4 separate regions of the Homo sapiens genome follow, and all the other regions are linked to region 1. The links are contacts of gene promoters, found by promoter capture Hi-C in blood cells and fetal thymus (Javierre and others, 2016). All regions are on one chromosome and are shown on one strand. The core of a region is centred on a gene start or on the middle of the fragment in contact, and the rest is flanking DNA. Distances in the headings are between cores, read along the strand shown. Region 1 holds the start of ARPP21-AS1 (ARPP21 antisense RNA 1). Region 2 overlaps PDCD6IP (programmed cell death 6 interacting protein). Region 3 has its middle 140 kb from the start of LINC01811. Region 4 has its middle 92 kb from the start of PDCD6IP.

Evidence for each region. Contacts are between HindIII fragments. The CHiCAGO score rates a contact against its expected background, and 5 or more counts as called.
Region 2: a fragment that was not itself captured here is called in contact with the fragment with the promoter of ARPP21-AS1 in region 1 in 1 of 17 cell types (erythroblasts); the score reaches 6.0 in erythroblasts.
Region 3: a fragment that was not itself captured here is called in contact with the fragment with the promoter of ARPP21-AS1 in region 1 in 1 of 17 cell types (fetal thymus); the score reaches 6.8 in fetal thymus.
Region 4: a contact is called between a fragment that was not itself captured here and the fragment with the promoter of ARPP21-AS1 in region 1, in 1 of 17 cell types (naive B cells). The highest score is 7.7, in naive B cells.

What each region holds. Positions count from the first base shown.
Region 1 is chr3:35,647,747-35,654,213 of GRCh38, forward strand. ARPP21-AS1 (ARPP21 antisense RNA 1) reads right to left here and starts at 4,215. Exons shown (of 2, transcript NR_046679.1): 1 at 3,962-4,215; 2 at 2,451-2,738. The region is part of intron 1 of ARPP21 (cAMP regulated phosphoprotein 21); the gene reads left to right. The HindIII fragment of the contact is 403 bases long and covers 3,892-4,294 here.
Region 2 is chr3:33,799,334-33,806,628 of GRCh38, forward strand. The region is part of intron 1 of PDCD6IP (programmed cell death 6 interacting protein); the gene reads left to right. Among named protein-coding and RNA genes, the nearest start is that of PDCD6IP, 4.4 kb to the left of the region's middle. The HindIII fragment of the contact is 878 bases long and covers 911-1,788 here.
Region 3 is chr3:34,017,947-34,025,250 of GRCh38, forward strand. No RefSeq gene overlaps it. Among named protein-coding and RNA genes, the nearest start is that of LINC01811, 140 kb to the right of the region's middle. The HindIII fragment of the contact is 2,379 bases long and covers 336-2,714 here.
Region 4 is chr3:33,887,008-33,894,117 of GRCh38, forward strand. No RefSeq gene overlaps it. Among named protein-coding and RNA genes, the nearest start is that of PDCD6IP, 92 kb to the left of the region's middle. The HindIII fragment of the contact is 3,581 bases long and covers 1-3,279 here.

The DNA of each region.
Region 1 (6,467 bases), core at 2,965-5,464:
TGCTTCACAGTTTCTACAGTTAAAGTTGTATAGTAACACTGGTCCCAACTCAACAACTTGCTAGTTGTGTGACTTTGGCAACTTAGTTAATTCCTCATTGCTTCAACTTTCTCATTTATGAGGTGGGAATAAGACCTACCTTGCAGGATCAAAGCAGAAACAAAGCACTTGACACATGGATATTATTCACTTAAAAGAAACCACTTTTCTTTCACATAAAAAGTTCAGAAAGAGATTTACTTTTCTTACATTTAAGGATCCCCACCTCCATTTAAGAAAAAAAAATATTTTGGTAATTTGGAATACAGCTCTCCTTCATTGCTATCCCATAATGTTTCTGATGGTTAAAATTGGTGATGCTTGACTCTTTCTGTGCTATGAAATATTGAAGGCCAAGCCAAGGTAGTAACTAATCTCAGAAGTGTTCATTGCATAAGGAACATGATGCTTAACAAGGCCATAATCTTCTGCCAGTTTGTAAGGGAAGAAATGGTCTAATTCAGTTGTCTAAAATGTTAACATATGGGTATTATTTCTCTAGAACATTTTAGTTGTGTAATTTCTACCATTTAAATGGGGTGAATAAATAACCAAATCATTGAATAGGAAACAACTGGAATGAATCCATGAAGGAAAAACCTAAAATCCTGCACTAGTGGATGGGAGCTGGGACTAACAACATATTTGAGGTGACATGAGAGAAACATTTTTCTATTCTGCAACAAAGCAAATGGAGCTTTGGCCTCACCAAGGGGTCCTTGGCACTACCACAGAAGGCTTCAGCTTCCTGTCTCCAAGCACTGAGTGAGCTGTTTGGACAGGGCCGCTGATCTGGCCTCTGATCCTAAAGTATCTGCATTACTTTTGCTGAAATGAGTCAGCACTGTGCCTCTGTGAACATGGCCAGAGGAGGGAAAGACTTCTCTCGTAACTGAGGTTTAAACAATTGGTTCCCCTATCAAAAAATTGAGAGCCACAGATAGTATTCAACACAGGAGAAGGTGAGTTATACAAAGCAGTAAATCCATCAGATAATTGCATTTTATTTCCTATTATAAAACAGATGTCAGCATTCTTCTGGGGAATAGCCTAATCAACTATTTATCCAATAAAATTTATCAGAAGGTGTCAGAGAATAAATTTATATTTCTTTGCTATCCAAATATTTGTTGGAAAACAAACAAAAACAAGGAAAGTGTAGATATATTTTGTTCCTATATGGATACATATATATTGCTAGAGTCGACATGCTTACGCACAAGTCATTTAACTAACTTACGTTAAATACACAAACAAAAGGCCTATTTCCCAGTCCATTTTTCATTGTCCTTAGCAGTTCTTGGCTAGTATAGTGCTTGCATGTGGCAGATATTTAATCAAAGTTTGTTGAATTAAAAATTGACCTTTCTACTGATACTCAGAATTTAAAACCTACTCTAAATAAGGTTTTAATTGTATTTTTTCCCTGAAGTTTCAGCTTAAGCAGATTTGATATTCATTTTTTTGAGAGGACAAAAACCTGCCCTTATATGTAGAATTGTAACTGCACTAGCTATTATTTTGGTTCTTACAAAATAGTTTCTTCCTCAGATCTCAGACAATGACTAGGGATTTTATGGGAATAACAAGGCTCCTAAAAGTTCAATCTGCTTAAACTGACTACAAACATTACTTTTCCATATAAGTGGGAGGGAATTCATTAACACTCAGTTAATATGGTCTTGGAAGAAAGAATGAGGCAAAAGCACGTTTACAAATATTTCCAAATCATTGTTACACAGAGCTAAAGGCAACCCATCTTTACTGGATGTGTGCCTTTGGAGAGATTAACCATGGTGAAGGACACCCAGCATGTGCGGAAGGAATTCACTCCTCCAAAGAACTAAGCAAGTAGGCAGTGCTGAATTAGAAGGCAGGGGTGAGGGACAAAGGGAGAAGAGAATATTAACAAATTCAAGACTTTCAGACCCCCCTCCTGCTTTAAGCAGAACAGGTGCCACCAAGCTATAGGAAGCTCTTCTCTTCCTGCTACTTTGGAAAAATGATAGGAATAACCAGAGTTAAATAGAAAATCATTTAATCCAACTGGACCATTGAGAACTGAATTCACGTTTTACCCGATCTATAAAAATAATCTTGTTTGAAAGGAAGGGGTCCAGATGATTACAAATGAAATGAGTTTGCTTTCTTAATTTGTTTCCAACATTTTAAGAAATGCTAAGTGTAATGTTGATGGAATGAACTTCCATTCACCCATCCACTTTAAACACACACAGACACACAAACAAAAAACAAAACCTTATACCTTAACTTAGAAGAGGAACACGTTATCTTCTCTGAGACTGTGGCAGGCTTTAGGAACATGTAGAAAGCAATAGATTTTGACACCGTTGATATTCTCATCAGGAAGCCAGCAAAATACATTCGAGAACACATTGTTTCAAAGTAAGGGAACTTCCATGGAAGCCAAGTTAAGTAGCCAGCTGAGTTCTTGGGTGACGGCTAACAAGGCTTGTCTTTGCATCAGATATCATTACCATCACTCATTTATTCATTCTTATTTTTCAAGTATTTATTGAAGTTTTCTATGTATTGTGTCTCAGGCTAAATACTTGGGAAAACTTGATGTGTAGGATTTTATAGGCACTTGGATGAGATGAATGCATTTTAACTTTTCTGAACAATGAATTGAGTAATTGAGAGTTTCACAAAAATCCAAAGTGATAGGTAGACAATATCTTGGATGATAAAGTAATATGAATTAATTCCAACAAATTAGAAAAATCTTTCTTTACCAATAAAGTTAATTAGGTAATCCCTAGAGCGTACACTTTGAGGGTAGAAAAATATTGTTTCCAGAAAACAAACATGGAAGAGTGAGCACCACTGAGAAGCTTTGGTGGAGAGGAAAGTTCTGTTGGTGGGAATAGGCCACAAAGTAAAACCAACATTTAGGTTGCTCTCCAACAAGAAAAAACACCATCAACCAAGACAAATGTATATGAAATTAGTATGAGCCAGTCATATTCTCTTTTTCACTCCCATTAAATCATACATTTACTGTATTAGTTACTAGGGCTGCAAGTAAATGGTTGAAATTACATTGGGATTGTGAACTGAATCCACAGTTTAAGGTACCTGATCAGAGTAAAGTATAGAAAATACATGAACCAGCCTACGTATTTAGAATTAAAAATTAGGTTTATCAAAAGACAAGTTATTCTTTGAATTTGTTGTGAGATTCCACATTTGTGTGTTTGAGAAAGGAAACAGGAAAATTATTTCAGAAAAAAATGATAAAATATTATAAAATCTGTTAATCCTTAATAAATTAAAAATAGTGCCTGTGATCAGAGGAAGATGAAATTTAAATGGTTCTGTAGGAAAACCACAGAGGAATAAAAGATTTGATCTGTAGGTCATCTGAAGGATAATCTTTTTTTAAAGAAAAAGATGCATTATTTTTTCATTGGCAGCAAAAACAATTTAGATATTTGGAGGCAGAGAGATGTCTGGAGAAATATATATTGCCTCTGACCTGCCTCTTGTTCAAATACCTTGCTCTGAAATACTGAGAAAGAACCTACTTTTTGAAATTACCTGTAAGCGACAGGATTATGCCAGATAATATCTAAGATCTCTTCCAGTTTATAATTTCCATTATTTAATGACACTTTTTTGTATAATATTCATGCATCCATTTTTATTGGCTTGTTCATAAATGTTAACTATGCTTTGTTCTTTAGCGCTGAAAGTAAGCACTAATGCTACCCAACAGGAGTGAAATTTTTAGAAGGTGCTCTTATCAAGAATAGTTGGTTAAGAAAAGAAAATCTGGGTTCCCAGACCTGGGCTCAGATCCAACTCTGCAACTTAGTAGAAAGTTTCTTAAGCTTTCTAAACCTCAGCTGTTTCATTTCTAAAAGGGGATTGTTCTAAGAATTAAATATAAACTTCTTACCTCATTTCTTGGTACTCATTTTTTTCTGGTGATCATAGTTTTGGAGTTTCTTATGTCCTTATCACTATTTTTTCTTGATTGCATAGGCCTCACATAATTAAAGCATCCCCATAAAACCCCTCCCAGTGTTGAGAATGTTTTCATGATGTGGCAGTTATCTTGGATATTTTGTTCAGGCATAATTGGAATCCGTTTTCAACACAGCTATACTCTATATGATGAATGCTTCCACATCAATGGTTCTGTGAGGAGAGGCCATCTGTGAACACAGAGTGCAGGTCATTGTTTCTAGAAGGCACTCCTTGCACAGACAGCAGGATTTGACCTTTTATAAGCTTGGATGGGCAGTAGAGACTTTGAAAAAGAGATGTGGGTATTCATAGGTGATTCAGAATTCTATGTGTACACAAGATTCCATGCAGTATTTTATAATCTACTAATGTGACTCAGCTTTGGGTAAGATTGTAGTTCTGGTGGTGATTCACAGAGGTCTCCTAGATTTGTCTAGTAATACTGTAGAGAGTTTAGTCTTAGCATCCTTCCAGGAGCAATTTGGGACTGTTATCTAAGAACTAAGAATGATTTCAAATAAAATTACAGTAAACTTGTGACTTGTTCACTTTGCAGATAAAACCAATGGTTATATCCAGCAGAAGGCCATTTGTATAATAAAAGATTTGCCCAAAGGATCTAGCAAGAGAAGAGAGCTCTAAAATCAATTTTTCTAAAAATCACTGAAAACATTACCTCATTGTTTTGATCTAGCTGTGAAAATAGACTGTTTTTTATGTTTTAAGAAAGGATGAGGAGATATCACTTGTTTCATCATTTATTGATTGGATCCTTAGGCTTAAGCAGGGATCAAACAGTTTGCACTGTTAGCCAAGGCATTTACAGCATTGAGACAGAAGCAGACCTACAAACTTGAATGGGCTTATATATTTTACTGGGTAAATTTACCTAATATATTGAATTGACAGCTAAAATGTAGGTATTCCTGATGAGGTACATCGATAAATGGTAAAGAAGATCTACATGAAAGGAGTGTGATGTTTTTCTGAACTTGTTAGGGAAGCTACCATGTGGCCATTTGTGGAGGAAATCTGTACTTATTTCTGTATTGATTAGGTCATTTGTGCCATTTGTTCTGCTCTGCGGGAATTACTTCACTTGGCTTGCTCTTTCTGCACTCTGAATTACCTTGTTTCTCCAGGCAAAAATTCTTATCTGTATAGAAATCCAAGATTTCTGTAGCCTTGTGAGTATTATTTGCTGAAGGCGCAGGGACAGTGATAAGTGAAAAGTCAGTATTCTTCTACTGATTTTGAGTTTACCTTTGGATTATGTTTGATCAAAAGCTACATGTGGCATTGTGATTTCAAATAAATAATTTGTTTTATTGTCTTGTACTGTAAATGTTACCTGATATTTATAAACTCCCTCCTGTGTGAAAGGGACTTTGTGTGCCTATGTAATGTCCATACCTATCTACTTTTTGGCTGTAGTCATAGCAGTGACATTATCTCTGTTATGATATATTTAGGGATTCTTGTTGAAGGAAGAATGAAAGAAGTTATTTCATCCTTAATTTTTTTCTTTGTAATATGAATTACCCTGTAATATGTAACGGCCACACAAAACAGAGAATTCAATTATCTCATCTGGGTATCATCTAACTAAGAATCAGGAGCTAAGGGAAGTAGGTATAGTGAAGCCATGACAAAGAAGGCCATGGAAATTAATTTTTGAAACTGCCGCAAAGTACACGGAAATTTGTCTGCATGCTTCACAGATCTATACTTGTGGTTGCCGTTTATGGCACGAATGATGCCACGGACTATCAGCTCCTGATTTTACATATCTTTGGGACACACTCTCCCCCGGTGTCATAGGAAGGGGGTAGGTTTGACATCATGGTGATCTAAATTTGAATTCCATCTCTGCCTCTTACTCACCTAGCAAAGTTAATTAACCATTGTGAGTTTAATATTTTCTTCATGAGTTACGTATAAAATACTTGCCACATAATAGAAATGATAGCTTGTTCCTGCTTTCTCTACATGTACTGACTATCCATTAAAACATTGAAACTTCTAAGAATATGTACACTGAAATTGTATGTATATCAATATTTGTTTTGAAAATACTGTAAAGTTGTGGTTTGAGTCACAAATATTGTATCAGTCCATGAATAACTGGAAAAGAAAAGTAAAATAAATTTGGAGGGTTGTCACATTCTATAGCATTGGCTTTTATAAAGTGTCAACAAGATATATAATTAAGTAAAAAAATAAGGAAAAAATACTACGGCATATCTAAATCCATATTTGCACTCACCACCCATCTTAATTTGAAGCAGTGAGGTTTCTTTAGGGGACCCAGTGATTCACACTTAAGAACAAACAGATGCCTAGGAATAAGTGATTAAGAGAAAATATTATTTTTTCAGAAAATAAATGGTGATAAAATAGATGAAAAATGGTTTTAAAGATGCATATTAAGTGAT
Region 2 (7,295 bases), core at 100-2,599, 1.9 Mb before region 1:
CATAATAGTAGTTGCTTGAAGGCAGTGGGGGAAGTGGGGGAATTGGGACACTGGACCAAATGTCTGATCAGCTCATCACATTGTCCACATGAAATGGACCGTCTTCCTCAGTTCAAAATAATCAAATGATAGATGGAGAATTCTGAAAGTTAGGAGCTACAACTATTTGAAATAAAACTCTAGTTACATAGTTGAACCGTTCAAGGTAGGTTGTTTAAAAGCAGTTTGTTCACAAACAGATATATACACAGTAGAGTAAATTTGTTATTTTAGCAAACGCTTATTTAGCTCATGCTGATTTAATGAGGGTTCCTTTCATGATACTTAATAGTTATAAGAACATTTTTTACGATTTTATAGTTAAACATTTCTTTTGCATACCTTGTTAATCTCGTTTTCTCCGTATAGTATATTCTACTTGTTTCACAGGAGAATCACAATTGTATTCCAATCCAAGTAGCAGAAACCCAGGCTAAACTAGCTTGAGCTAAGAAAAGACTTATTCTGCCGGGCGCGGTGGCTCACGCCTGTAATCCCAGCACTTTGGGAGGCCGAGGCGGGCGGATCACGAGGTCAGGAGATCGACACCATCCTGGCTAGCACGGTGAAACCCCATCTCTACTAAAAATACAACAAATTAGCCGGGCGTGGTGGCGGGTGCCTGTAGTCCCAGCTACTCGGGAGGCTGAGGCAGGAGAATGGTGTGAACCTGGGAGACGGAGCTTGCAGTGAGCCGAGATCGCGCCACTGCACTCCAGCCTGGGCGACAGAGTGAGACTCCATCTCAAAAAAAAAAAAAAAAAAAAAAAAAAGTAAGACTTATTCTGCTAACTGAAAAGTCTAGGGATATTCCTTCCTTAGCTTTAGGTATCACTGGAGATCGTCTTGCCTCCGTGATGCTTCCCTCGAAAGCTTTGTTCATGTATTGAGAGGGATGGCTGTAGTGTAATAACAATCGTCCGCAACACTCAGTATCTTACAGAAGGGAGTGCTTTTCTCCTTAGCTCTGGTGGAAGTCCATGGGAGGCTCCTGGGTTTGTTTGCACCCATTTATGATGGTGGGAAATGGGCTAAGTTAATTGCCCTTATCTGAGTCATCCAGCCGGTTTAATTTCTCCTTACCCCATGGATCAAAGCAAGATGAGTCCGGACTGGGGAAGGGTTGGTTCTCCGAAGGAAGGGGTACTGAATAGATTGCTCAGAGGAATTAAGACCCCTTGGTGTCAAATTTTAGAGCTACAACTGTTGGGCTGCAAGGATCATTAGTCTAATAGCATAAGCATTTTTTTTAAAGTTAACCTAGAAATACTTAGCCATTCTTTAGAATTAACATAATTAAACAATTTCAAGGTAATTTTTATGTAGGCATGAATAGCATTCAGTGAGGATTTTCCATTAGTAATATTAAGAAAACATAGTTGTGGTATAATGAGCCCTGTGATAAAAATCTTGTTGAATATATCAAATTTGGTTCCAGCCCTCAGATTTGGGGTCTTCAGAAGCACTTGGTGCATGGGTTTTAAGCTAACAGACATGGGAGGTTGGTGGATAATGGTTTGGATACGGTTCTCCTGTCAACTTTAAAACTTAATTCATTTGTTCCTTCCTTTATTCTTTTTACCAGACTTAAATGTGTGAACTGTTCCTAGGTAGTGGACCTGTTGTAGATATAGTCTCTTTGAAACTAACCATGTTTCTTTAGTCACCTCTGTATAATCCCCTCCTGCCACATTAATTCAACAAATATTAAGTATTTTCACTTTTTGGGCTTCTAGAGGGGTTAGGGTAAGCTTGGAGATATTACTAAAGTTTATAATGGAGGTAGGTACAAAAGTTTTGTAGGTATATACGCTGTAAAATTAGATGTGAATCAGTTGTGTGATGTTCATTCAAATCCGGCAGAATATCTTATTTTTAATAATTATGTTTGGATAATTGTGTAAACTTAACATTAATTTTTTAACTTAATGAACTTTTTAAACTAATGAACTTTGAAAAACAGAGTTTAAACTAATTCCTAAATAATTGAAGCCAGCTTGATAAGTCCTGATATGCAGCTCCATATATTGCTCCAGTGATAGACTTGTTTTCTTATTACTAACTTGTAGGTGTTCTATTAAAATTTCCTAAAATATACATTTATGCATATTATAATAATGAGAATGAGTACTTAAAAACTCATTTGTTCTGGGTGTGGTAGCATGCACTCATAATTCCAGCTGAGGCAGAAGGATCACTAGAGCCCACGAGTTGGAGACCAGCCTGAACTACATACTGAGACGCTGTCTCAAAACAAAACAAAACAACAACAACAAAAAACCCTTTTATATGATACTTCTTCCTTTATAAAGTGGCTTTTACTAAAAATTGATTAGACCTTGGTAAATGGTGACCTAGGGTGATCAAATGGGAACCCTGCTGGTTTTTTATTTTTATTTTGTATTTTATTTGAAGCTCCAGATATACCATTTACCAGCATTGTGTAATTTCTTTTGTGGTGATCAGTTTCTTTAGAGAGAAAGCTTCTAGTCTTCCATGAAAAAGTCTGCTTATCAGCTTTCTAAATTTTATCCTGGGGAATGGAGGTTGGGGATCTTAACAATCATGTATGCAGTCTATCAGGTACATCTATTTTTAGTATGACACCTGCATTAGGGTTAGGTTCATTTCTGTGTGGTAGATCCCAAATTATCTGAGTTAAGATTTTATTTTGTAAAAAGTTGGCAGGTAGGTAGTTCTGGTAGCCCAGGGCTGGTGTAGTGTTTCTGTGGAGTTAATTGGGGCTCAGATTCCTTTCAGCTTTCTGCTGTTTGAAACCTAGAATATTGTTCTCAGGTCCAGGTTGCAATCATATCCAAGTTCCAGGTAGTAGGATGGAGAAAGGCACGGGGCTCGCCCTTTAGGGTGTTTCCTGGCAACTGTTCCACAACACCCTGCCTATATGTTACCGGCCATTTTGTGTGTCCTTCTGATAGGATGCTAGGAAAAGGAATTTTCATTATGAGCAGCTGTATACTCAGCTAAAGGGACACAGTTTTGTTAATAAGGAATAGGATAGACTGATAATGATGTAGTCAATTAGCACTCCCTACCCCACTTAGCAGTGCTTGATCTCCACCTTAGTTATATTTGATATCTCTGACATTTTTTTCTTTTTTCTTTTTTTTTTTTTTGAGGTGGAGTTTTGCTCTTGTTACCCAGGCTGGAGTGCAGTGGCATGATCTCGGCTCACCACAACCTCCGCCTCTCGGGTTCAAACGATTCTCCTGCCTCAGCCTCCTGAGTAGCTGGGATTTACAGGCATGAACCACTCTGCCTGGCTAATTTTGTATTTTTGGTAGAGACGGGCTTTCTCCATGTTGGTCAGGCTGGTCTGGAACTCCTGACCTCGGGTGATCCACCCGCCTCGGCCTCCCAAAGTGCTGGGATTACAGGCGTGAGCCACTGTGCCCGGCCAATCTCTGACGTTTTTTTGAGAGTGAACCTACCTTCAGAGTAGAGGATCTGGGAGCCTGAAGTTTTCTTTGAAGGATTTTCAACCATACCTTCTCGTTCCAGCCTCACATTGAACTACCTTCAGAGGTACCTCATGTTTCTTAATTCAGATCCTTTTCTGGCTTCTCTGGCATGATTTGGCTTCTGCTTTGGCTCCCTTCCCTCTTAGCCAGTTAGATTTTGGCTTTCTCTTTTTCATTCACTTTTCACCTTTTAGTAAATTTTGTTGAAACCTCTTATATCCTGTGTGTCATTTCCCGTTCTTTTTGTCCATGTTCATGTACATCTTTTACATTTTTAAATTCTTGTTTTAGTGGGTTTTGGCGGGGAGCAAAGAAGGATGTTTATTCAGATTTATTTGTTTAACTGTAAGAGGAACTTGTTTGCATTTTCAGCTCTCCACAGTGCTTGTAACAATTTACATTCTCATCAGCAGGTATATGGGAGTACTTTATTCTTCCATATCCTTGCTAATACGTACTGATTAATAATTTAATTTATTGCTTTTTGCTAAACTGATGGGTGAGAGATAGTACCTTTAGTTTGCATTCCTCTTATTTTACTGAGGTTGAACAGTTTTTGTTTACTGGCCACTTTGTTTCTTTTTCTGTGATTGCTTGTTCTTTTCTTTTGCCCATTTTCTATTGAGTTGTTTTTTCCTTACTAATTTGTAGGAGTTGTAGCATTTTCTGGATATTTATACTTTTTTCATTAGGTATGTTGCAAAAATCTTCCAATCTGTTTCTTGTCTCTCAACTGTGTTTATTCTATCTTTTGTCACATGGAAGTTCTCCCAAAAGTGTTGTCATCTCATAATCTGTAGTTAACATTTTTTTTCTTATTCCTAATGTTGTGCATGTGTTATGTGTGATTTTCCTCCCTCAGATTTGCCAAAGGTTTGGAGCCACCTTTTCTTTGTTTAAAACCAAGGCTTTTTGGTTGGTTTTCTGCCCTTGTCATTCATTTTTTTAAAAAATGTTCTTTGTTCCTTTTTTCTATCTTTTTGTATTGATTGGTTAGTTTTCCATCTTTTTGGTTTTTCTAATATATTTTAGGACTGTGTATTTTTTTCTCAGTCTGTATTGGTTGCATCCTACTGACTTTTTCATTTGTAAAATGAAGTTGATGGAATACTCTTTTAATTTCTGAAATATTTTCTACATGGTAGTGTTTTATAGATCAGTAAAGAAAATGTTCTGTTTTACTTCATAACTGTTGTTTGGATTCTCGTTGTTGGTTTGGTGGTGAACATACTCTTTGCAGAACTTTTCCTTGTCCCACGGCCATGAAAATTTAGGCTTGCAAACGGTTTGAAGGGTGAGTAAAGCAGGGTTTTATTGGGTGAAAAGGAAGAAAAGGGGGAAACAGGAACTCTCACAAAGCTAGAGTCCCAGTTAGAGCACATCCCGCCTGCAGCTTGAATCTCAGGTTCCGCACAGGAAGAGGAGGGGCCAGTCTCCTCCCTATGGAATTTCCCAAGGCTCCACCTTAGTGAACAGGCTGGTTGGAATTTCTCCAGGGACCCCCTCCCACCTGGCTGTCTCAATATTGAGATAATATTAGCACAATGACGTTGCTACAATTTGTTAACCAAATACTAATGGAGAGTCTGTGTGAACCATACTGTAGGAGACAATGTGGAGGATATAAAGATATACTTGGTCCCTGGTCTCAAGGAATATCTGTAATTGGCAGACCTTTTTGGCTCCGTAATTTTATTCCACATAGGTGAATAAACATATGGGAAGATTTAAAATCTGATTTGTTTTTCTGTGTTTTGACTTTTCTGGTGTTTAGTAAATCTTATCAGGACTATCATCATTCTGTGTATCTGTAAGAAGAATCTTCTGAGGTGCTTTACACAGGAGATTTAAGCCCACAAAGCTATCTTTATGGCAGAACTGGACTAAGATCCTGACCTCTTGATTCCCCAGCTAGTTACTTTTTGCCATACTCTCTGCTGCAGTAGTGCTTGATTAATGATTTTTCATGTGTTAAATTGGGTGAAGAAAGAAGTGTGAAAATAAAGTTCACAAAGAATCTATGAACTCCAGCCAATATCTCTGGCCCAGCTTTTCTGATTCTCTTGTTTCATCCTCTAGTTGGTGGTCTGGAGTTGCACATCCCTAAATACAGATTGCAGCTGAATAGGGTTGTGTGAATTAGCATTGCAGTATTATTTTGGCCATGTGGATTGGTTGTTCTTGATCCCCACACCTTCCCCTTAAATTAAAAAATTCTTTTCCGGCCGGGTGTGGTGGCTCATGCCTGTAATCCCAGCACTTTGGGAGGCTGAGGCGGGTGGATCACGAGGTCAGGAGTTCGAGATTAGCCTGGCCAAAATGGTGAAACACTGTCTCTACTAAAAATACAAAAAGTTAGCCGGTCATGGTGGCGGGTGCCTGTAATCGCAGCTGCTCGGGAGGCTGAGGCAGAGAATTGCTTGAACCCGGAAGGTGGAGGTTGCAGTGAGCCGAGATCACACCACTGCACTGTAGCCTGGGCGACAGAGTGAGATTCTGTCTCAAAAAAAAAAAAAAAATTTTTTTTTCCTTTTTAAAAATTAAATATAGAATTTAATCTTTATTTAAAAATTTTAACATTTTTGTTTTTTTAAGACAGGGCCTTGGCTCAGTTGCTCAGCTGCCCAGGCTGGAGTACAGTGGCGCCACAATAGCCTACTGCAGCCTCGATCTCCTGGGCTCAAGCAATCCTACTTCAACCTCCCAAGTGGGTGCATACTACCATACCTGGCTAATTATTAAATTTTTAGTAGAGAGGAGGTCTTGCTGTGTTGTCCAGGCTGGTCTTGAACTCCTGAACTCAAGCAGTCCTCCTGTCTTGGCCTCCCAAGTGCTGGGATTACAGGTGTGAGCCACCATACCTGGCCAATTTTTTTTTTTTTTTAAACTAGAATTTCTTTTTTTGTTTTTTGAGATGGAGTCTCACTCGGTCGCCCAGGCTAGAGTGCAGTGGCGCGATCTTGGCTCACTGCAAGCTCCACCTCCCAGGTTCACGCCATTCTCCTGCCTCAGCCTACCATGTAGCTGGGACTACAGGCGCCCACCACTACGCCCGGCTAATTTTTTTGTGTTTTTAGTAGAGACGGGGTTTCACCGTGTTAGCCAGGATGGTGTCGATCTCCTGACCTTGTGATCCGCCTGTCTCGACCTCCCAAAGTGCTGGGATTACAGGCGTGTGCCACCGTGCCCAGCCTAAACTAGAATTTCTAATGGGAATTTGTCCTGTACCTATTTGTGGTATTTCAAAGAAATGTATTTATTTCCTAGTTTCTTTTTCCCCATGAGATTTTTAAGTTGAGTTATTATATATTTGTGCCAAAGTGGTTGAGTTTTATAAAATACTGGAGAACATATATAAGTACTTCTCCATTGTTGCAAAACAGTAATCTGTAACTACCATTTGTCATACATGTACTCCTGTGTGTCCAGGAACTATTTTAAGCACTTCATATACAGTACCATTTATTCCTCACGCTTAAAGGAGGTATTATTACTCTTTAGGAAAGGTTCAGAGAAATTGAATAATTTTTTCATGATCACATAGCTAAGAGTTGGGATTCAAACTCAGGGCTATCTGACTTGAAAGACTGTGACATTATACCTTTTAAATATATTTGGGATTTTATAGTTTTGGTTAAAAAAATTCGCTTATTTCTAAAATAGAATCTATGAAGACACCAATTTTTTTGCACCATTATTTTCCACAATGTGCTAGTTTTTGCCAACTCCTGGCTTAGCATACTGGCTTTCCCTGTGCCTACTTATACAAAACTTGCA
Region 3 (7,304 bases), core at 275-2,774, 1.6 Mb before region 1:
GCATTAAAGTGGAATCCCTCACTCCCTCCTTCCCCTTCCTCCCTTCCTCTCTTCCTCCCTTCCTCCTTTCCTCCCTTCCCTTCCCTTCCCTTCCTTTCCCTTCCCTTCCCTTCCCTTCCCTTCCCTTCCCTTCCCTTCCCTTCCCTTCCCTTCCCTTCCCTTCCCTTCCCTTCCTTCCTTTCCTTCCTTCCATTTTCTTACCCAGGCTGGAGTGCAGTGGCATGAATGATCACAGCTGATTTCATCCTTGAACTCCTGGGCTCAAGCAATCCTCCTGCCTTAGACTCCCAAGTAGCTGGGACTACAGGTACACACCACCATGCCTGGCTAAGCTAAGCTTTCTATACTGAGTTTTGCCTTTACACTTGCTGTGTGCCTTTGGGCAAGTCATTTAACGTGTCTGACTCTGGAAAGACTGTGAATTTGGAGGGAGTGGTAGGCATTTAGGCTAACCTGTGCTTGTTCACATGGTGGGCATGGGTTTCCAAGAGAGCATGTGGAAGCAGCTCAGATCTCTTGAGGCTCAGTCTCAATGCCTCTTCTGTCATATTCCATTGATCAAAGCAAGTCACAAGGACAACCGAATGGGAGGAGCTGCAAAATAACATTGTGAAGGAAGGAGAGAGGAGAATTACTGCAAGCCATCTACACTGAGCTAATTTTCATCCTGGGATCCTCAAGGAAAACAAGTGGTTAATATAATGTGGTGTTTTGGGCATGTGATGTTCTGTGTGTGACATTAGCTAGGAGGATGGGCAGGCCAAGAAAGTAGAGAAAACCGTGGACAAGGAATCAAAACTTACCAGTTGCTTGGCCTTAGACAAAACACTTGGACTGTTAGAAGCTCAATTTTTTTGTCCTAAGGTTCCAAAAACCTTTATTAACCCTGTTCTATTCTAGGCACTAGAGCCATAGATAGAAAAAAATGAATGATTCTTGTGAGTTTTTCTGTGTGTCTATCAGTGATTTTGGGAGTGACAGTTGTTAATTCCAGCCAGTTTTGGCAATAAAGGGTTATCTTGTTTAAAAGACACTGGTACCTTGCTTGCTGTTCAGGTCAGCTTTGAGCCTGGCTTACTGGACCACTGTTTTGTTGAGGGAGCTCTGAGTAATGGCAGACCAACATTTCTGTCTTACACTCTGAGGCAGGCATTTCCCCATGGGAAATCTTCTCTTGTTACCTTAACTTTTGAATTGCTCGACCCCTTTGGGGGTTGGTAAAGTCTTCAAGTGCATCTATATTCTGCTCACTTGTCCTGGTTGATTTTCAACTTTGTTTTCCAGCTGTGAAAAACATATGTACGTATGGCAGTAATTGGGAATTTAATAATTTTTGATGTTTCTTGTGGTGTTTGGGAAATCCACTGAGAAGGATATATATTTTTTCAGTGTTTCCCCTTTCTGTGCTAAAACTCTGCTAAAACTATTCATGAATTTTATTTTCTCCCTCTCCCCTCCCCTCCTCTCCCCTCCCCTCCTTTTCTTTCCTTTCCTTTCCTTCCTAGCACAAGGCAGGCTAACTTTGAAGTTAGGTTTCCTTTTTGGAGGGTACGTGTATTGGTTCCTTATTTTCTCCTTTTGTTTTCATTTTTATAGTGTTCTTTATTAGTTTTTCCAAGTCATTTTAGAAATAAAAAAAGAAACGTAGAACCACCACCGTAACAACAAAACACCACAGTCAGAGATTCAAACGATCTGAGAATTTTCCTCTTCTCTTTTCTCTTCTCCCTTGGGAACCTATGCACCTCCACAGATTCATGTACTATTCATGAACAGGTGATTCACACATCAGCATATCCACATATCCAACACTAACATGGACTCCAGTCCCAGAGTTTCCCTCTTGTCTTTATGCATCAATATGATCCAAACCAAGGCTGTCATCTTTGTTCTGAAATCACCTTCTCCTCCTGGAAGTCATTGTTTCTGTTATTTCTTCCTCAAGTGGTCATTTTCAATGTTTCTTCCCTCAGTTCACCTCAGTAGCATTTCCACCATTCTTTTCCCACTGTCTAAACCCTCATCCATGGCTGTTTATTTCAGCATTTTAACTTTTCTCCACTCTTTCACCAGCACCACACACTCACATTGTTGAAGATAGTCATTGGTGAACCTGACTTTATCATTTTGTATTTTTTATGGTGACTAGCACAGTGCCCATATTAAATGGACCTTCAATACACATATATTGAGTTAAAATGAATTAATCTTTTAATTACATGCAAAATCAAATAATATTGTCACAAATTTGGAAAATAGAAGAAAGAAACAGAAAACACTCATAAATCTATCATCCCAGCACACTGTTCCAATGACTGATATATTCTTTCAGTTTCCTCCACCCCCATCTTTATATGTGGTTTTCAAAGTTGTCATTGTTACTCCAGTGGTCCACATACAGCACACAGAGAGTTTCTCAGCCCTGATACTAAAGTCTACACAATAGCAATTAATGTGGCTCATCAAATATTTCCAGCTGTCTGCCTTCTTGGCACATGGCAGGATTGTACTTCCATCCTTGTGGTTAAGCAAGGTTATGTGATCAGTTTTGGCCAATAAATTAATTGCTGGTATGAGATTGCTCCATCACCCCCTACCCAGGAACATTCTTTCAGATAGTGGCTATTCCATCAATGGTGGTCCTAGAGTGAGATAATGATCTGGAGGAACCCCCAGGAGACCCATGATGGACATGAAGTGGGAGTGAGAAATAAAGCTTTGTTATTTTAAGTCACTAAACTTTTGAGCTTATCTGTTATTGCAGCAACACCTTATCTCAATCTGACATATAGTTCACACCATCTGGGAGCTAGAGAAAACCTGAGAGATTTTCTGGTTTAATGCCATCATTTTATAGATAGAGAAATTGAGGCTCAGAGAAGCAAAATGATCTGTTACACAGAAAGTCAATGTTGGCACTGGTTGGAGCCCAGATCTGCTGTCTGCCTGAATATTTTTCCTGTTCAGCAGGATTCTGGGCCCTGCATGAGGCCAGCCTCAAGTGATGCTGCCCTGATTTTCCTCCGCTTTGTGGTAGCAGTTCTACTGCAAACTATGTAGGGATCAGCTGTCCCTGGGGTCTGGGTCACTGGCCTGCTCTAATTTTATACCTTGACAGATCATTTGCAAGTGCCCCGGGGTCCACTTTTGGAACCCTCCACAAAATGCCATGACGCAGGTGCCCATGTCAGCACTACAGCAGTTAGAAAAATGCTTCCTTTTGCAGATGGTAGCTTTGAATTGTATGCAATGGCATCTCTGTACAAGTGAAAGTTCAACAATTCAACTTCGGAATTATCTGATGGTGATGAAATTCTCAAATTCAAAGGTATGAAGATAATTAGGACTCTTGTTAATCATTCTGCATCTCTTTTCCCACCCCCACCCCGCAGCAATGAGATTCACACAGATTAATTACTGCCTGCTATAAATAAACGCAGAGAAAAGCAATCTGCATAGGAGAGGCAGAGAGTAACTGTCATTTAATATATCACAGCTTTCCGCACACCTGTTTCCCCCTTGCTGTTGCCACGGAAACCACACTTTATAGGAGAAGCTATGCATAATTAGCATGGATGGAGGTCTATATCAATCAGAATAATTTGGAAGAATACTAAAAGCCCAAAGGAGCAGGCAAAACTACTTGTCTCAGTAGGAAGGAATCAGACCTCCACTGTGTAGTAAATGAGGAGGCAGTTACAGTAGAAAATCAGCAAAATTAGCACTTCTGGGTCAGCTGAAAAACAGGCAGACAGCCTTACTCCACTAGAGAGAAAGAAAACTTTGTCATCGAGTTAGGTTCTATTTCTTTTAAGTGCTATTTAGAGTCACACAAAGGAAATACAAAGCCAAACAAACACATAAGTATATTTTGAGGTGATGCGACTCCGATGACAGGACCTGTACTTCTGAAGGGCAGGCTCTGCACATCTGGGGAGCCCCTGCTGCAATATTAGGCAGTGAGGCTGGGGCTCCAAGACTCCAGCTACGGGAGGGGCTGCTGAGTGTGGGCTTCCTTTAGGGAACAGTGAGTGGCTTTCAATCAAGGTATGGGATTTTATGAGTCGCTGGAATCATTAGGTTTTTGTTGGTGGTGGTGTTTGTTTTTTTTAAGTGACGGAAGGGAATTTGGAAACAATCTAGTTCAAATACCCTAGTTCTAAGAGGAGAAATGGGAATCACAGGAGATGCAACTTGCCCAAGGTTTCAAGGCCAAATGGTGGCCTATCTTGAACCAGGACTCAGCTCTCTGGTTTTCATTTAGTACCATTTGCCGAGGCCACGGATCTGACCACCACTGAGTTGGTCATCCTGGCCAGAAATTCTTAGATTTTTTATTACAGAGGGAAGGAAACTGAGTACCTGGCATAATAAGTCATTCAGATGTTAGCTTTTCTAGTCTCAGACAATTTCCCCTTTTGTGTAGACATGCAAATTCATTTCTTTATTGAATCATTCATGCAGCAAACATTCATTAAGTAAAATGAAATATTATATTCTTTGAGGTAACACAGAAAACTTTCTGTAAACTCTAAATTTTCAGAGTTGAGATTAGATTACTGTTTATATTAATTAATATACATCCATTCATTCATTCAACATTTATGTATTGACTGCCTACTATAAATAACTCTATTCTAGGTGCTACAATACAGCTGTGAATAAGGCATGAAGATCTGTGGCTCATGGAACTTGCATTCTAGTGGGCAGAGAAAGATCTTAAATGGAAAAACAAATTAATAAGATAATTTTAGATGGTAGATAAGGTCAGTGAAGAAAATAAAGCAGGGTAATGGGCTAGGGTTAGGAGTGTGGATCTTATCCTAATTGTAATGAGCAGCAATCAGAGGGTTTTAAGCAGGAGAGTGATGTGATTGAAATAGTTCCATGTCTTGTTCTCCAAGCAGGATTTGAGGTCACTGGTCTGGGGGATTGTAGCTACCTATCAGTCTCAGGCCAGTAGAGACCATGGGCCTGTGCCCAGAAGCTCACTGTTGCCTTTACAGCAGTCCTGGGGAATGATGGTAAAGGAAGCATAGCTTGGGTATATGTCTTCCCTTTCCTCTTTCACCTTTTCTTCGTTGCTCATTCTATACTTTATCTCTTCATGAGCCTGCTAATAAGTAAAATAATAAAAGTGAGAATGATAACAGCAATGAAAAGGCATAATAAACTTTTATAAAATGTTCCCTTACCATATGCCTGCTAGTGTGAATATTGCTGTGTGGTGTTTAACTCATTAACTCTTCAAAATGTAGAAACTATCATTAAGTTGATTTTACAGGTGAGAAAGCTAAGGGGGAGATTAAGTAGTTTTTCCAAGGCCAACTACCTAATTTAATGGTGGTGCTAGGGTTTGAAAAAAAAAGCTATCTGTCCTTAGAATCTATGTTGTTAACCTCTCTGATAATTGGATCAGTCAGTAGTGTCAACATGTTAATAGAGAAGGTTTAAGTCCTTCAGCCCCCACAGTAAGAAAAGTGGGTAGAAGGAAAGCATAAACATTTTGTGTCTACTATGTGCAGAAAAATATGTAAGGCACAATCATCCCCTTTGGTCTTCATAACTGCCACTTCAAATTATCTCAGGAATTAATAAATCTTGCAACAATGCTGAAAGGTAGGTATCATGTACCCCATCTTTAAGATTAAAAAACAGAGGTTCAAAGATGTGAAATAACTTGAATAGGAGCTGCCGAAGTTTGACCTTTGGCCTGTGGTACTCTAAGGAAAGCCATCACAGTGGAGGTTTAGGGCAGGCCTGCCTGGGAATTTGGGTGTGCCTTCGTGGGTGTCAAGGATGTCCTCGAGGCAGCCAGGCAGAGGACCTGGACTGACTGTAGCCCCTGGTCAATTGTCTTTGGCCATAGTAACTTCTTATGGGGGTCTTTAGTGGACCTGGGGTTTAGAGCATAGTGGGATCTGCATGCACATCTGCTAACCCCTGCAGGAAGCTCCATGTTCATGCTGAGTGTGGCTGCAGGGCTCTATCTCATTCACCAGGTACACAAGAGAAGCTTCCTCCTACTTGGGGTGTCTAGCAAGCTCTGACTCAGGTTGCTTCTTTGAAGACTGTATTTGGTCCCTGCTGGCTCAACACAACCCTCAGGTTTTTGCCTCCACTTAGCCCCCTCAGTGATGGTGGATTTCCCAGGCATCTTCCTGCCACCAGTGGGTCACTCCTTTGCTCCAAGATTCCATCTTTGCCAAGTGCACCAGCTGTTAGAATGACATCCTCTAAAACTAGTCCTGGCTAAGAAGCCGTGGTTAACATGCTCTTTAGCTGAAGGCTTTAAGCTATACCCTTACCCATTTCAGAGCCTGCCTGAATTGAGCCCTGTTTGCCAAGCCTCCTTTCCCCACCCCTGCGCTCCATCTATCCAGCTTCAATTCCATCTTGACTCTTTATTGTTCTCTTTGTTTGGCGATTGACTTAGTATCCTTGCCCTTGAGCTGGCACCCACACCCTAATTAATCCAGTCAGAGCCACTCCATCTCTCAAGCTTGCAAGCTGGGGATGGTTGGAAGACAGAGTTATCTAAGAAACTAAAAAAGACTGCTGTCAGCCCCAGTCAGTGTGGAGGACATGAAGATGCATCCTGGAGATCCTTGGTGTGGCTAAAAATGTTAAAATGACCCCTTGGTCCAGTTCCACCTCCAGGGAGCACAGATGAACAGCCTGTGCCTGAAAGCAGTTGCCCAATCACACTGGGCTTGTGAAGAAACCATCCAGTGCTCTTTCGCCACAACACGTGGCCAAGTGGGGCTCTGTCCAGTTGCATAGGCAGTGGAGTGCTGGGTGTCCCTTCATGGATAGCATCTGACACAACTTAGCTATCTGTATCAGTTAGCCCTTGCTGCATAACAGACCACTCCAAAATGTATTGGTTTAAAGTAACAGCCATTTATTTAGCTCAGTTTTATGGGGATGGTTCTTCTGGCCTAGCCTGGGCTTAACGGGGTTTGCTCATGTGTCTGTGGTTAGCTGATGGGTCAGCTGGGGCCTGGCTGGTTCTGGTTCTGTATGACCTCACTTGCATACTGGGGAAAGTGGGGGGTCACTGGTGGTGTGTCTTTCATTCTCTAGTAGGCTAGCCTGGGCTTGTTCACATGGTGACAGGATCCAAGAGCAGTAAGAGAACACTCTTCAATGTGCAAGTGCTCTTCAAGTCTCTGCTGGAGTCACAATTGCTTCTGTTCCATCTGCTGAAAGAAGTCACATGGCTAAGCCCAGAATCAGTATGGCAGGGCACCAAGAAAGGAATCTATGAAAAAACTGGACATTTATTGCAATTAATCCACCAC
Region 4 (7,110 bases), core at 239-2,738, 1.8 Mb before region 1:
GTACACTTCAGGACATACTTATCCCCAAAAGGCTGCTTCCTAAAAATGCTAATTGTGCATGTTAAACAGAAACCATAGGCTCCTGACAGCCTCACAGAGTCCTGTTTGTGGATGTTTTATGGAGGTGATTTAAACCCTAGGACTCTTCCTTTCTTCCCTCTCGTGAAGGATCTTGGTGTTACCAACTCATTAGCTCGTGTTCCTGTTATTTGCCTGCAGTTGCAGTCCTCTGCTTTCAATAAACGGGCCTAGCACTGTCAGGGGATGTTGAAGTCACGGAGGTGGCCACACTGGATAATCAACAGTGATGACAACTTTGCAAATTTAAGAACAGCACACGAGGCAGAAATGAGAAGCCGCATGAAGTGCTGATGAAGAGCAACTTTCTAATATCCTCCTCCTGTGGTTCCACATGAGATGTGAGCTGTGAAGGAAAGAGAGTTATGAACCAATTGGTGCTTTGAATTGAGATTCTCAGAGTCCACCCATGCTGCTTTGTGTGGAGTCTTGGGGCATTTATTCAACAAAGACATCCTGGGGACCTACTCTGTGCCGGACCCTGGGCTAGGTGCTGGAAGGAAGTGATAAGGAAGACAGGGACCCTGTCATTGGTGAATAAACAGTCACAGGGGAGAGATGTAGACAGACATGGATACCAGGAAATGCAATATGGAGTGAGAAGTGTTGTAACAGAGTGTTGTTCCAAAAAGGATTCAAGGAAGCTGGAAGTGTGCACAGGTAACACAGGAATACATGAGAGAGAAGTTTTGCTCTGCTGGATTGAAGATCAGAGTGGAAAAGATTGTCAATGGCCACCTGCCAAAGGCCACCAGGGAAACACCTGCAGTCATAATTTGCTACACCAAAAGAGAGTGAATGCCACAGAGAACCGTGGATGTGTGGATAAGAGGGAGTTAGTGGGGCTTACTGGAGGATTTGGTCATGTGTTTGGTGATTTGGGGAAGAGTACAATGAAGCTGGGCTCTGTTCTGGATTGGTGCTGTCAGAAAGTGGGGCAATTTGGTGAGTGAGCATCTTACACTAGTACTAGTGTACTAATACTGGGGTTAGAGGTATCACTGGAAAAGAAGCAGCAGCATCTCATGTTAGCCTAGGGAGAGGGAGGTTTGGTCACTCTTGTGATTGCACAGGGTCTTTGTTTTTACCTCTGTTCAGGTCTGATCATGGAGCAGCCATCTGCTCCTGAAGTTCTTTCTGAAGTCTTTCTGAAGTTCTCAACTGCTACTGATATTCTCTGAAAGATTTTGTGTTCATCAGGGGACAACACAGTCTAGCAGGTAGAGATGAGGCCAGCTACCAGCTGAAAACTCTCAAGGCTGCTTCCCCATCACCCCTCCACCTCTGGGCACTGAAGGATGAGTAGGAGTTTCCCAGATCGGAAGGTCAAAAAGGGATGGGCATATGAGGCAAGAAGGCATATCTGGAGTAGGCCTGGGGAGGTACCGAGTATCCCAGTAGGCTGAGGGACACCAGAAGTAAGGACGTGGGTGAGAACCAGGGGGTGTAAGCCCAAGGAGTCAGACAGGGCCCTATGGTGGGGGCCTCTGGGGCTTGCTAAGGAGCTTAGATGGAATCCTCTGGCCATATTAATCTGAGTGCTCAACTCAGAGCGGGTGATCAGCAGATGTTTATTGAATTGGAATATCGGTTAATGAATTGGACCTCTTTTTCCTTGCAAACCCCACCCTCATGCACCCAATATAGTGCCATCAAAGACAAGAAGAAAAGCTACATGAGGAAGGGATATCCTTCTAGGAGTCCAGATGTCCTGCCCTTACAGTAGCTTTTGGAATACTATAGTCACAGAGCTGACAGGGTTCTTAGGGTACATTTGGTCTGCCTCTCTGCTTTTACAAAAGGGCACCTGAAGCAAGATGCGACAAAGTGCTTGCTTAATGCTTCACAGCAGATTGTGAAAGAATGAGGACTTGAACTCACATCCCTTGCTTCCTTGTTTCTGCCCTTTTCACTACAGCAACACTTGTCCTTGTCATCTATAACTTTCCCAGATTAGTTCTTCTATAACCCTAGTGAACCCTGGGCCTCCACATGGCTCAGTCTCTGCAGAGTTCTCCATATACAAAAACAAAACAAAATTCAGCAGCCAGAAGTACTTGAGAAGGAATTCCATTTGCTGCATGACTCTGTTGAACTTCGAGGGGATAAGAGTCACCAGCCACAGTTCCACTTTTCAAGGACCCTTGCCTCTACTCCTCAGCTCCTCCGGATGGTCTCTTGTGCCAGCACCCAAGCTGCTCCTGTAACCACAATCCAGAGCTGATTTTTCTCTTGCTTCTTCCTTCCTCATCTAGTTCTTTATTAAAGAGATTGACCTGGCCTCTCTGCGCATATCCTCCCTACCTTCTTCCTGTCTCTCAGGACTCATCTCCCCTCTTTTATCTGCCAGTGTTGTGTCTGGCAGTATGTTACAGAAACCTCATTACAGTGGCTAAAATAAGTAAGAGATTTATAATCTCTCCCCAGACAAGAAGTCCATAGGCAGATGCTCCACAGCTGTGCCAGAAGCTCTTCCTGGTTTTCTGCTCTGCCAGTTAGGGTGGATGGTTTGCTTCATCTCACAGATGGCTGCTGCACCTTTGGGCGTCATGCTTACATTCCAGGTTAGAAGAGGGGGAATGGCCAAAAGCAAAAGATATGTGCCTGCTGAATGGTCTCTTTACATCAGAAAAACAATTGATTTTCTGGAAGCCCCAGCCGGTAGAATTCTCCCTACACTCATTGGCCAGAGACGGTCACATGGCCATTGCTAGCTACAAGGGAGCCTTGGAAATAAGGCCCTGAATAGATAAGGGAAGAATGGATATTGTGTAAGAAGCTAGCAATGTCTGCCATACTCATCTTATAACTTTTGCATCACAAAAATCTGGGAGCTGACTTGGCAAAAACAGGGTTTCTTTCCATGTTGGGTTGGGGAATAGGAGTTTATTAAGCAAAGTTATTTACAGATGAATAAATATTAGCCTAAATGAGTATGATTGATTCTAGAGCACATTGATTTTGTTTTCATGTTGCAAATTTTTAGCCTTTAAAAATAGAAATTTAAATGGGCATTTAGGACATATTGCCTATAGGAAGCTAAACACTTTTTCTTAATGCATTATATTCAAGATTAGGGCTTTGCTCTGAGATTCCCAATTCCAGGAAGAAAAGTTTCTAAATACATTCTACTTGGAAAAATTATAGTTGTTTTCTCTTGTGCACTAAAATAAAATCAGTACAGAGAAAAAAACCCCACCAAGCTTTTGGTACTACAATTTCAATTCTCATCTTTGTCAATGTGCACATAGGCATTTAGTGTTATTATAATGAATGCATATCAGTTGATTGTAATCTGTTCTTTTCCATTTAATATTATTTTATAGCATGATTTTATAAACATACAGTTCATATAGTTATTTTTAGTAACTATATATTTTGAGATATCATAATTGGCTTAGTCATGCTCCTTTGACCAGTGGTAATTTCAAAAATATTTAACAACTGATATTCATATTGATCAATCAGAACACTCTAGGCTATAGAAACAGAGTATGTCCTGGAGGTCTCTGTAGGACCTGACATTAATTCATTTGTTGCTGGATTGTAGGGTAGATTGTTGGTGGTTGGGAGGTTGGGTAGGGAATATTTACTAACTGATATGGAAGAAATGTAACTATTTTCTTAATTAAAATTCTTTTTTTGTAGAGGTGGGAGTCTTGCTAGGTTGCTCAAGCTGGTCTCAAACTCCTGCCTCAAGCGATCTTCCTGCCACAATTCATTTTCATCTATTTATCTATTTTATAGAGACAGGGTCTCACCATGTTGTCCAGGCTGGTCTCAAACTCCTGGGCTCAAGCCATCCTCCCGCCTTGACCTCCCAAAGTGCTGGAACAGGTTCGAGCCCCTGTGCCTGGCCCCTGCAACAATTTAATAACCGGTTTTATAAGTTAGTTTTGGCTGTGTAACAAACCATTCTAAAACAGAGTGACTTAAAAGAAACAATCCATTTAGCCCATAATTCTGTGGGTTTGTAATTTTTAAAAATTAATATAGTTTTTAAAATTTCAATAGCTTTTGGGGTGTAAGTGGTTTTTTGTTACACAGATGAATTACATAGCGGTGAAGTCTGAGATTTTAGTGCACCCTTCGCCTGAGTAGTGAACATTGTACCCAATGTGTAGTTTATTTATCCCTCACTGTGCCCCACCCTCTCTCTTCTGAGTCTCCAAAGTCCATTATCTCACTCTGTATGTCTTCACATACTCATAGCTTAGTTCCCACTTATAAGTGAGAGCGTATGGTATTTGGTTTTCCATTCTTGAGTTACTTCACTGAAAATAATGGCCTCCTCTCCTTTGTAGCCAGTGGGCCAGGAAAGAAGAAAAAATAATGGTCCCCAGCTCTATCCAAGTTGCTGCAAAAGACATTATTTTGTGCTTTTTTATAGCTGAGTAGTTTTCCATGGTGTGTATGTATATCACATTTTCTTTATCATTGTTCGATGGTCACTTACACTGATTGATTTCTTTGCGACTGTGAGTTGGCTGCAATAAACATACACATGCAAGTGTCTTTTTGACATAATGACTTCTTTTCCTTTGCATAGATACCCAGTAGTGGGATTGCTAGATTGAATGGTAGTTCTACTTTTAGTTATTTAAGGAATCTTCATACTGTTTTGCATACAGGTTTTACTAATTTACATTCTCACCAGCAGTATGTGAGTGTTCCCTTTTTACCACACCCATACCAACGTCTATTGTTTTTTTTTTTCATTTTAGTAATGGCCATTCTTGCAGGAGTAAGGTGGTATCTCTCTGTGGTTTTAATTTGCATTTCCCTGATCTTCCTTTGAGAAACGCCTATTCATGTCATTTGCCCACTTTTCGATGGGATTATTCATTTTTTTCTTGCTGATTTGTTTGAGTTCCTAGTAGATTCTTGGTATTAGTCCTTTGTCGAGTGCATAGTTTGCAAATATTTTCTCCCATTCTGTGGGTTGTCTGTTTACTCTGATTATTCCTTTTGCTGTACAGAGGCTTTTTAGTTTAATTAGGTGCCATTTATTTAGTTTTGTTTTAGTTGCATTTGCTTTTAGGGTCCTAGTCATTAATTTTTTGCCTAGGCCAATGCCCAGAAGAGTTTTTCCTAGGTTATCTTCTGGAATTTTTGTGGTTTCAGGTCTTTGATTTAAATAGTTCTTTGCTCCATCTTGAGTTGATTTTTGGGTAAGGTGAGAGATAGGCATCCAGTTTCATCTTCTACATGTGGCTGGCCCGTTTTCCCAGCACCATTTATTAATTTATTTAATTTACCATTTTATTATAAAAGATATTGCAAAGGATACAGATGAAGAGAAGCATAGGATGAAGTATAGGGGAAGGGATTTGGAGCTTCCATGCTCTCCTTGGGTGGGCCCTGCTCCAGGAACTTCCTTATGTTCGCTCTCCAGAAGCTCACTGAACCCTCTTGAGTCCTCTTGAGTTTTTATGGAAGCTTCATTACATCAGTATTCCTTTGCCCCAGGGGATAGTGTGCGACCCTCTCATGGGAGAGTCTAAACATCCACAATCAGAAAGGTGGAGAACATTAGAGTCCTACCTTGGGGCAGGTGAAAGGAGGGCGGGAGAAGGTCAGAGGCCTAACACACCCAGCATTATAACAAAAGACTGCAACAAGGGTTATGGGAGTTATGAGCCAGAACTGTGGATGAAAATCAATATATATCATAACACCACAGGCCACTCCTGATTTTTAACCACGGATCCTTTACATCTATCTATCTATCTATTATCTATCTATCTATCTATCTATCTATCTATCTATCTCTGTATACACAATCATTAATAACTAGTTCAGTCTATCATATTGTATGAATGTCTCCCAGGATGAGGCCACTCACATTTGTAGGTTTCCTCACAATCTTTTCAGGTTCCAAAAGCAGGAGTGGCCTTGGTAAATATACAGCTTCACCCTTACAGGTATCTGGAATAATGAGCTAAGAGACAATGTCATCTTTTGCTCTGAGACTCTTGGGTCGTTAATGTAATATTGAATTTTCCTCAATTAATAACCCACTTATTTATTTCTTTACTCTTAGCTACTATTTCTCTTTCTTTCCATTAATACCCAAACTTTTTCATCTTTGGAAGGGGCATTAGAATCACCAGTGCTATTTATTAAACAGAGTGTCCTTTCCCCAATTTATGATTTTGTGTGCTTTGTCAAAGATCAGTTGGTTGTAAAGTATTTGGCTTTATTTCTGGGTTCTCGATTCTGTTCCACTGGCCTATGTGTCTACTTTTTGTACCAGTACCATGCTCTTTTGGTGACTACAGCCTTGTAGTATAATTTGAATTCCAGTAATGTGATGCCTTCAGATTTGTTCTTCATGCTTATGATTTCTTTGGCTACTTGGGCTCTTTTTTGGTTTTATATGATTTTTAGGATTTTTTTTTCTAATTCTGTGAAAAACGATGTTGGTATTTTGATAGGAATTGCATTGAATCTGTAGATTGCTTTGGGCAGTATGATCATTTTCATGGTATTGATTCTTCTAATCCGTGAGCATGGGGTGTGTTTTCATTTGTTTGTGCCATCCATGATTTATTTTAGCAGTATTTTGTTGTTCTCCTTGTAGAGATATTTCACCTCTTTGGTTAAGTATATTCCTAGGTATTTTGTTTTATTTTGCAGCTGTTGTAAAAGGGATTGAGTTCTTGATTTCATTCTCAACTTGTTTGTTGTTGGTGTATAGCAGTGCTACTGATTTGTGCGCACTGATTTTATAACCTGAGACTTTACTGAATTCATCTATCAAATCTGGGAGTCTTTTGGCGGGGTCCTTAGGGTTTTCTAGGTATATGACCATATCACTGGGGAAGAGTGATAGTCTGACTTCCTCTCTTGCAATTTGGATGTCCTTTATTTCTTTCTCTTGTTTAATTGCTCTGGCTAAGACTTTCAGTATATGTTGAATAGAAGTGGTGAAAGTGGGCATCCTTGTCTTGTCCCAGTTGTTGGGGTATGCTTTCAAAATTTCCCCATTCAGTATGATGTTGGCTGTGGGTTTGTCATATATGACTTTTA